Linked DNA regions of Homo sapiens: region 2 is linked to region 1. Evidence: promoter capture Hi-C in human tissues and cell types (Jung and others, 2019). All regions are on one chromosome and are shown on one strand. Each heading gives the region's core, a stretch centred on a gene start or on the middle of the fragment in contact. The rest is flanking DNA. Distances are from core to core; before and after follow the strand shown.

Region 1 (4,359 bases), core at 700-3,199:
TTATAGTTTTCCAGAAAGCTTGAGAGAGGGGATGAATTGGCAGGAGCCCAAGAAAGTGGCAACAAGTTACAAGTGTGACACCAAGCTCTTTAGTGGCTTAGAAATCTCCCCACCCGGGTCATCCCCTGGGATCTGCCATGACTGGGGTCGCTTGTGGTGGTCTTGGGTCAGGCCTCTCCTCGCACACTTCCTAACTGCTCATCTGCCCAAGGCAGGGTTAGAATGAGTGAGTGATGGAGCAAACAGCTGGAAGCTCAGCTCTGAGCAGAAGGGATCTTTCCATTCCAATTGTCCCTAAGGGCTATAGCATTGTGGTATCCCCAGAGAACAGCACAGAGTAAGGCACACAATTAAATGCACCATAAATATTGGTAGAATTATTAATCTCCAAAGCAGCTTGTAAAAGGTTCAACTCCCAGGCCACCCCCGACAGGCCTGCCAAATTCCACTCTCCCCAGCAGGGGTCTGGGAAGCAGGACTTGGAGAAATCTTCCTGGTAGTTCTTTGACCAGGCAAGTGTGGGAGGCACTGGCTGGTCCAACAGGCTAGTCCAAGCACGTCAGCTTTTGAAAGTGGTCACGGTCATGGTGGTGGTGGTGGGAGTCGGGGTCCGGAGAGGGGTGGAAGAATTTGCCTGGGATTGTAAATTGGGCTTCCATGCCAGGGAACTGGGCCACTTTACCTAGTGGGGACTGGGAACTGGGGACTGACAGAGTGACGCCCTGTGTTCTCTGCCATGCCAACTTGGGTCCAGAGCCTGGGGCTCCCCACTTTTGGAAACCCTGCCATGCTTGATTTTCACAATTCACTTACAGTCTCCCCAGTCCAGTCCCTGGTACCCCAACAAGGATGGGGGTGGGGGGCTGTGCTGACACAGAAGAAGGAGGGCTTTGGCCAGGTAGCAAAGTGTTCACAAAGTGTGAATCCCTTAAGCATTTCTGGGTATCCCTGCCCCTGGCTTTTACATCTCAGACCCCCAGCCAAGACTCAGGTACCAGCTGCCTCCCAGGACAGCAGAGAGCCAGGCTGTGGGCCGTGGGCTGCCAGGGACAGCTCCAACCCTGATCTATGGTTTTAGGCTTTCAGCCCCAACCAGGTCTTTGTTAAGACCGAGAAGAAAAGGGAAAAAGCTACAAGGTTCTGTCTCCCTAGAAAAGGAAAGGGAAGGCTGCCAGGGAAAAATTGTAGGGGGTGGGGGGATGCCTCATGCCCCTTCTGCGCCCCCTTCCGCGTGGTGGTGGGGACAAGAGAGAGATGTGGGTGAAGAAGAAGGTGGGGTGGGCGGCTAATTGAGGGGGACGACGATTGTGGCGCGGTCAGCGATGCGCCCAGAAGAGTGTGAGTGGGTTGTGTGTGTGTGCGCGCGCGCGCTCTTAGATGAAATTCTCATCTCAGGGTGTGCCCGAGACCCTGGCCAGCAGCCGCCTGCCCCAGCTTTGGGCAGACGCCCCCACCCGCTTTCGCAATTCACCTGGCCCCTTATCTTGAGTTGCGAGGGCTGCTCCCTCCCTCCCTCTTCTCGCCACCGAACCCCCATTCACCTGTTCCCCACCCCGAGTTCAAACGGCTGCTGCAGCTTCCTCCTCCCCGCACCGCCCCCGTACCTGCGCCCCCACAGGGCAGACGATGCTTGGCTGCGCGGCGCGGCGCGGGGCGAAGAGGCGAGGACCCTGCCCGGCGTGTGGGTGCGGGGGTGATGTGTGGACGCGCGTGACTGTGCCAGCGGCCCGAGCTGGTCGGCCCCGGAGAGGGTGCGCGGGGGAGCCCGCGTGTGCCAGCCGCGGGCGTGTGCCAGGCGCGGGCGTGCGCGTGAGGGTGTGTGCACGGCCGAGGCGGAGCGCCCGGGCGGGCGGCGGCGGCGGCGGCGGCGGCAACGGCGGCGGCGTTAGGACTCGGGGGACACCGCCCCCCGCCCCCCGCGTCCCGCCCCCGCCCAGCCTCCCGCCTCAGTTCGCGCCGCGCCTCGGCTTGGAACGCAGGAGCGCCGGCTCCGGGAGCCCGAGCGGAGCCAGCCGCGCGCACAGCCAGCGGCCGCGCCGGCGATGCGGGGCCACCCCGCGCCCGCCCCAGTCCCGGCCCCGGCCCCCGCGGGAAGGGGCTGAGCTGCCCGCCGCCGCCCGGATGGCGAGCCTCGCCGCGCTCGCCCTCAGCCTGCTCCTGAGGCTGCAGCTGCCGCCACTGCCCGGCGCCCGGGCTCAGAGCGCCGCAGGTGAGTGCGCCCGCCCGGCTCCCCTGGGCTCCCCGCTCCCTCCTGGATGCGCGCGGGCCCCCAGCCGCGGGGCCCTCGGAGGAGAAAGTTGTGTGGGCTCGCGGGGGCGCGGGTCCCCATGGCCGGAACCCGGGTCTCAGCTTGCAGGCGCGGGAAGCAGTGTCCCCGCGCGCCCCGGCCAGCGAGCCCGGCCCCTCGCGTCCCTCGGCAGCCCGCGTTTGGCGAAGTTCCCCGCTTCAGTTTCCTGCCGGCCCCCCGGGCTGGAGTAACTTTCCGCGGTTGTTGCGAATATTTCCACTTGCTGCCTCCCACTTGTCGGAATCTGCCACTTGAGTGTTTGGGGCGGCGAGACGAGGAGCGGCACCGACGCCCGGGGTGGAGCGTTCTCTCCCGGGCAGCTCCTCGGGCAGCGCGCGCTTTTAGTGGGGAGGACAGGTCCCCAGCAGGCCGAGGCTGCCGGGGCGGCGGCTTTTCTTTTTTCCTCGGAGATACAGGAAGCTCTCCATTTGCTCTGAACACGCTGCTCCCCTAAGCAGGCCGCTGTAGGCACCCGAGGGGATGTTTGCGTTGATGACCGAGAGCAATACCTCCGCCCTACCCGCTGGCTTTTCTCCGAGGTAGCTGGGCGCCCGTGTTAAGGCCCTTGGAGGGGAGTGGATTTGACCCGTGAGCGCGTCCGCTCCTGAAAAGTTCGGGGAACTCATATTTGGGTTTGGCCACGGGAAGGCGGTGAGCAGAGGTAGTTCCCCAGAGTAGGGGGAGCGGGGGCGGGGGGGTGGTGCCTGCCGTGCTCCTAAAGGCACGTTGGCGGGTGCTGGAGGGCACCACAGTCCAGGGTCTTACACATCACCAAGCCCCACCGCAGGCAGCTTCCACCCCCGAGCCCCCCCCCCCCCAAGAGTAGCGGCGGAGGGAAGAGAAGGGAGTGCTGCAGGTGTACTTCCAAGTTCAAAATCACCTTAAAGTTTCTTAGCACCGATTGCTTTTGGTGTAACCACGCCGGCCTGAGGTGGCTGGGATTGCGGGGACAGGCTGAGATCAGCCCGTGGGACGCAGGAACAGGCTGGTTTCGGATCGCTAAGCAACAGCTGTGCCCATTTATTATTTCACCGAAAGAAGGAAAGGAAGAAAGAAAGAGCAAAAGAACGAACCTGTGGGGAGGTACAGCGTCTTTGCACAAGCTGCGTCTGAGGTTAAGGGCCGCTGGAAGGACATTCCGTTGGAAATGCTTTAGAGCCTTCCTTGCTTGGTACTAAAATGGAAGCGGAATAGGCGACTTCTGTGAAGGGACAGCCTGTTTCCCTGGCTGGGAAGTTGGGTGACGAAGACACTCCTTTTGAGGTGTGTGAAGCTGAAAGGTTGGATTAGCAAGTGAGAGAAGAGGGACAGCTACAGCACCATTCTAAAGATGGTGCACAATTCTTGTTTTCCTCATTTTGGGGGGTGTGTTAGGTGTGCTAGGGGAGGGAGGGGTACTAGGGAGGATGCCCGGGGCAGTCCTGGGGATCCAGGCATGATTCGTGACTCAGATTTTATATCCTCTAAGGCATGACCGGCCAACCACACATTAATACCACTCACGTTCCCGCGGCAGAAACAGGATCAAAAATATTCCATCACGGGTCTCGAATCGTTCTTGGGTAGCAAGCGGTAAAACCCGTACCGGCTCGGGAAGCTGTCCAGTGCTGAACGCCGCCCGTTCCGGATGCTCCCGCCAGGTGGCGCTCGCCCACAACTATTAAAATGCAAATCTGGTTGCTTTCATATCAGGAATAGAACTTCTTTTCAATTTTTAAATGAGTAATGTGTTTATTCAGCAGCCTTTTGTTAAAACATTTAGAGAAGTGTGAGGAGCGAGCACCTTTTCTTTGTTTGCTCTTTAGAATGCAGGAGAAAGAAAAGAAATCCTGGAATATGGTTTGGGAAGAAATCTGTGGTTCTTTTGGGTCTACCTGGGCAGGGTGGTTTCTGCAAACCTGCGATATAGCATATATTTAGCAAGTGGGTGCCTTTGTGCCAGGGGCTCCTTAAACGAATGGGATTAGCTTGTATTGGAGAACTGGTGCATTCTAAGCCTCACACATTTGTAGAAATGGGGATTTTCTGTATATATCTGTCCTCTCCTTTCCAGTTTAACGGCAACTAGACCA
Region 2 (4,359 bases), core at 594-3,093, 410 kb after region 1:
TCAGTAACTAATATTAAGTAACCAGAAATTTCAGATAGTGAAAATAATAGTGGATATAGTAAGTGTCGGTGTCTGGGATACGGGAGGGCTGCTTGGATATAGTGGTCAGAGGAGATATCTTTGAAAATGTGACCTGGGCTGGGACTCAAATCACAGGAGGGAGTTCACAGTCTAGTGATTTGGTGGAGGGGTGCTTCAGACAGAGGAGATAGTGGTTGCAGAGGCCCTGCACACGGAGTTGGCTTGATGCTGCCAGCATGTCCTGAGCATACAGGGCACAGGAGAAGGTGGTCAGGGCAAATGTTGGGCAGGAAAGCCTGGACTTTGGGCAGCATCGTGAGTAGTTTAAATGTTTGTCTAAGGGCAGGGAGGCTCTGCTGCAGGGAGTGCTGCTGGAGAAGGGTCACTTGGGCTGCTCTGTGTTGGAGGACCATAGAGAAGATGTCGGGAGACCTAGGAGGAAGAAAGTTCTGGAGCCATGCAAGAGGTGGTGGTGGCCCGCACCAGGGTGACTGAGAGACATCCATTCATCATCCAACAAGTATTTACTGAGCGTGAGCTCCATGTCAGGCACCATTCTGGGTTTGTGGGAGTGAGAAAGACAGATTGACTGTCTGTCTTCATGGACTTCTATTGAAGTGAAGGAGGCTGAAGCAAAACAAATAAAGTAATTATATGATTATATTATTATAATCTATATATTATATAATTGTACAAGCATTATATAGAAGTATATATTATATAAATGTGAGTTATAGTATATAAATAATTATATAATCATATAATTTACATTTATATATCATATATACATTTATAATTATATAAGCATATCATATATAATTATATGATATGCTTATATAATTATATGATATGATTATATAATTATATGCACAGACAGTGCGTTAGTTTGCTAAAGCTGCTATAACAAAACCCCTCAGACTGGATGGCTTAAGCAACTTAAATGTATTTTATTTTCTCACAGTTCTGGAGGCTGGCAGTTCAAGGTCAAGGTGTTGGCCACCGTAGTTTCTCCTGAGGCTCTTTCTTTGCTTGCAGGTGGCTGCCTTCTTGCTGAGGCTTCACATGGTCATTCCTCTGTACTTACAATCCTTTGGTGTCTCCCGGTGCATTCAAATGTCCTCCTCTGTTGAGAATACTGGTCAGATTGGATTGGATTAGGGCTTTCCCTAAAGGCCTCATTTTAATTTAATCATGTCTTTAAAGGCCCTGCTGCTAAAAATAGGAACATTTGAGATACTGGGGGTTGGGGTCATATATCAAAAGATAAATCTGGGGGAGACACAGTTCAGACCATGACAAATTATGAGCAGGACAATGAAGAAACTTAGAGCATAGAGGTGGATAGAGGTGCAGAGATTAGCGATCCATTTAGGAGGCAGAGCCAACTGGTCTCATTTGATAAATTGGATTAAGAGTCAGGCATCGGAGATAGTGCACTCACAGATTTGTAGCTTAAGCAAGGTGGTGAGAGCCTGGGAAGAACTGAGCAGGCTGCCTGGTGAGGGGCCCTGTGGGCCCCAGGGACTGCTTACAGGGATTACCTGTCATGCAAGTGGATAGTAGCTTCTGAACTCTCCTTTAGACTAAAGGTGCTTTTCCCCAGCCTCCAGTCTTAGAATTTATGACTTCACTCATAGATGGTTAAAAATTGAACTATATTGAAATATATGCGTTCAATTCAAAAAAGCCTGTGGACATAAAGTCTTTTTAATTATCCCTTTCTGTCCTCTAAAACATATTTTCTATTAACATATGGTCAGAGTTTATCAATAAGTGATTCCACTAAGTATTCCAAAAGTTCCAGGGAGCGAGTGACTGATTTGCAATTGTATCTTCAATTGATTGGCACTGAAATTAGAACTGTAGATAATTGCCTCCAAGCTCCCAAAACAGTAACCAAAAGACAGGCATAATACTCAAAGAAATTATTTTCTCTTACAAACGGAAGCCTCTCATCTATATTTTATAGCCCATTTAACATTTTTGTGTTATTCTAAAAGTATTCTATCCTTAGTTACCCTCTGTTGCTGTTTCTCAGTGTTAGCCATTAGCAGGGCCAAGGCAGTTATAACTGTGTAAGATAAATGTCAGTATGATTTTTCCACTCCGTTTCAAAGTTTCTAGCTTCTAAGTTGACTTTTCTTTCTCCCTCACAATCTTGTGGGGCCGTGTCCCCGAGCCCACAGAGCATCTGCAACATGTTTCTAATGTGCGTACTGGGCTTTCTCCACAATTGTGTGGCTTCCTACTGAGCACTGTCAGGTTTAAAGAGCAAGATAAAGGGCACAATAATATGTCTTCAGATGCTGCACTGACATCTGTAGGCGTCTAAATGTCACTAACGTCAAGGCATTTTTGCCCCAAATGCACAGCCAGTCTTCTGTTAAGCCCATTCAGTGGCATCCCATCTGGGGGGAATTGGGTCTCAGTGTGGAGTGAGTAGGAAATGCTTAGAACCACGAGCCGATGGCTGACCTGGGTACCAAGGTCAACCATGTTTGGCTGAAGATGAGTGATTTGAAGCTCGTGGAATATAAGTTCTCTCCCAGAGCAGCAGATGCTGGGGGAAGGTGACAGTTGAGAGAGCTTGCGGCTGATGAGCAGGCCGTTTGGGGGCATGGAAAAAGGAGGGTCAGAGAGGCCAGGAACGCAGGGAAGAGGACCATACAGGCCCCCCACATAAGCACAATCACCAGAGAGCACTGCCTGTCATGAGCCAAGGATGACCCAGAGCCCCAAGGAGCAGAGACAAGGGTCTTGAGCAAGAAGAGGGTAGCCTAGATCAGCTCCTGTGCTGGGAACTGTACTCGGGGTTGGCCTTCATGTGATGCCCACCGCGTACCGCATGGAGTGGTGGGGGCATCCCTGAATGTATGGGGCTGGATCGGGTGAGACTGGCTAGTGGAAATTGTTGCAGAGGACTTTCATAAGAGCTACATATCAGGGACCGCAGATTGATAGAGCCTGCATGTACACATGTTTTGTTAAGCCTGTACTGTGTTTTAATAACATGTTGAGTTTAGAGTGAGAGATTTCATATAAAGTCTGGATTTCTTACTGGCCTGGAGAAATCAGACGTTTGACACCCCTATACAAAGCATGCATGCCTGGCCTTCCTCTGCTGAATTTAAGTAGGAGCTGCCCCCTTTCAGTGTCCCCTTTCAGAGTCTCTCTCCAGTTCCCTCCAGTCCTCACCACTCCTTATTGTCTCCTCAGTGCTGAGGCTACTGGTGGATACCAGTTATTGTGCTTACAACATTGCTTTTCTTATATAAAGAAATCTTTATTTTTCTCAAGTCTCTATCAAAAGTGGGAAAGTAAAAGATGGGGCAAGGAGGTGGTATTTTTGTTTTGTTTTACAGCTGAACGACTTTATTAATTTACATAACTGGCTCTTGTAGGTGCATGCGTTCATTATCTCTGCTGTAAATTGCCAGTATTTCCCCAGAATATTCACACTAGGAGCCATTAAACATCTAAACTCTCTACCACTGAACCTAGAAGGAAGGGAAGAAGAGGAATTGAAGATGAAAGAATCAAGGCAAAAGGTCTGTTGCTGAGAAGGAAGAAGTGGAGAGGAGTCAGAGGCATGCTGGGGACATTGATCCAGAAAAGATTCATTGCTAATTGTGCATATCCCAGAGGTTAAACCATTTTCTCGAAGGGTAAGGGAAGAGCATTTCTTTGTAAAACTAAACACAGAGTTTCCCAGCATTGGAGCTAAGACTCTGCACTCCCTCCCCACCTGGGGTGGATGTGTTCACTCCCCCTTTAAGCCTGTGGCATGAACAGGCTTCCAAGGTTCACTCTATTCCCATTTTAAGAATTGATTTGAACTGATAGTTCCAAAAATAACTTCATAAAATTATACAGGAGAGCCAAAAGGAAACAATTTCAGACAATCAGAGCAGCATGGCATTTGTCAAGTTGACTAGATGCAGGAATTTTCAACTCTGAAAAGCCCATAGAGGTGGTTTTCCCCGGGCCTTGGGTCCTTGACACCACACCAGCCATGGTGGCTCAAAGGTAGCCTGAGGGGTCTCTGAGCTGCTGTCATTAGTTTAAAAACCTGAGTAAAAGTACATTGGGGAAATGGGGATACTGCCCACTTCCTGGATTTTTTGGGGGTTTCAGTGAGATATGACGTGTAAAGTCCTACAAACAGTGTCAGACTCATCATAAGCGATCAATGAACTCTTCACTGTGCCAGGCCACTTCTCAAGCACCAATTCCACGCTGCCCAGTGCTCTCCCAACAAGTCTGCCTAATTGTTCCAAGATTCTTGGCTTTTGCTGAGCTTTATAGGTGCTGACACAGATTGGTAGACAAAATAGTTCA

The links. Contacts are between HindIII fragments. The study calls those that stand out against the background at their distance.
Region 2: a contact is called between a fragment that was not itself captured here and the fragment with the promoter of PTPRT in region 1, in 1 of the 25 tissues and cell types used here (dorsolateral prefrontal cortex).

The regions. Positions count from the first base shown.
Region 1 is chr20:43,187,496-43,191,854 of GRCh38, reverse strand. PTPRT (protein tyrosine phosphatase receptor type T) reads left to right here and starts at 1,949. Exons shown (of 31, transcript NM_007050.6): 1 at 1,949-2,209. The coding sequence starts at 2,122. PTPRT-DT (PTPRT divergent transcript) reads right to left here and starts at 1,790. Exons shown (of 3, transcript NR_186414.1): 1 at 1,605-1,790. The HindIII fragment of the contact is 13,787 bases long and covers 1-4,359 here.
Region 2 is chr20:42,773,210-42,777,568 of GRCh38, reverse strand. All of the region lies in intron 4 of PTPRT (protein tyrosine phosphatase receptor type T), which reads left to right. Among named protein-coding and RNA genes, the nearest start is that of PTPRT-AS1, 190 kb to the left of the region's middle. The HindIII fragment of the contact is 9,444 bases long and covers 1-4,359 here.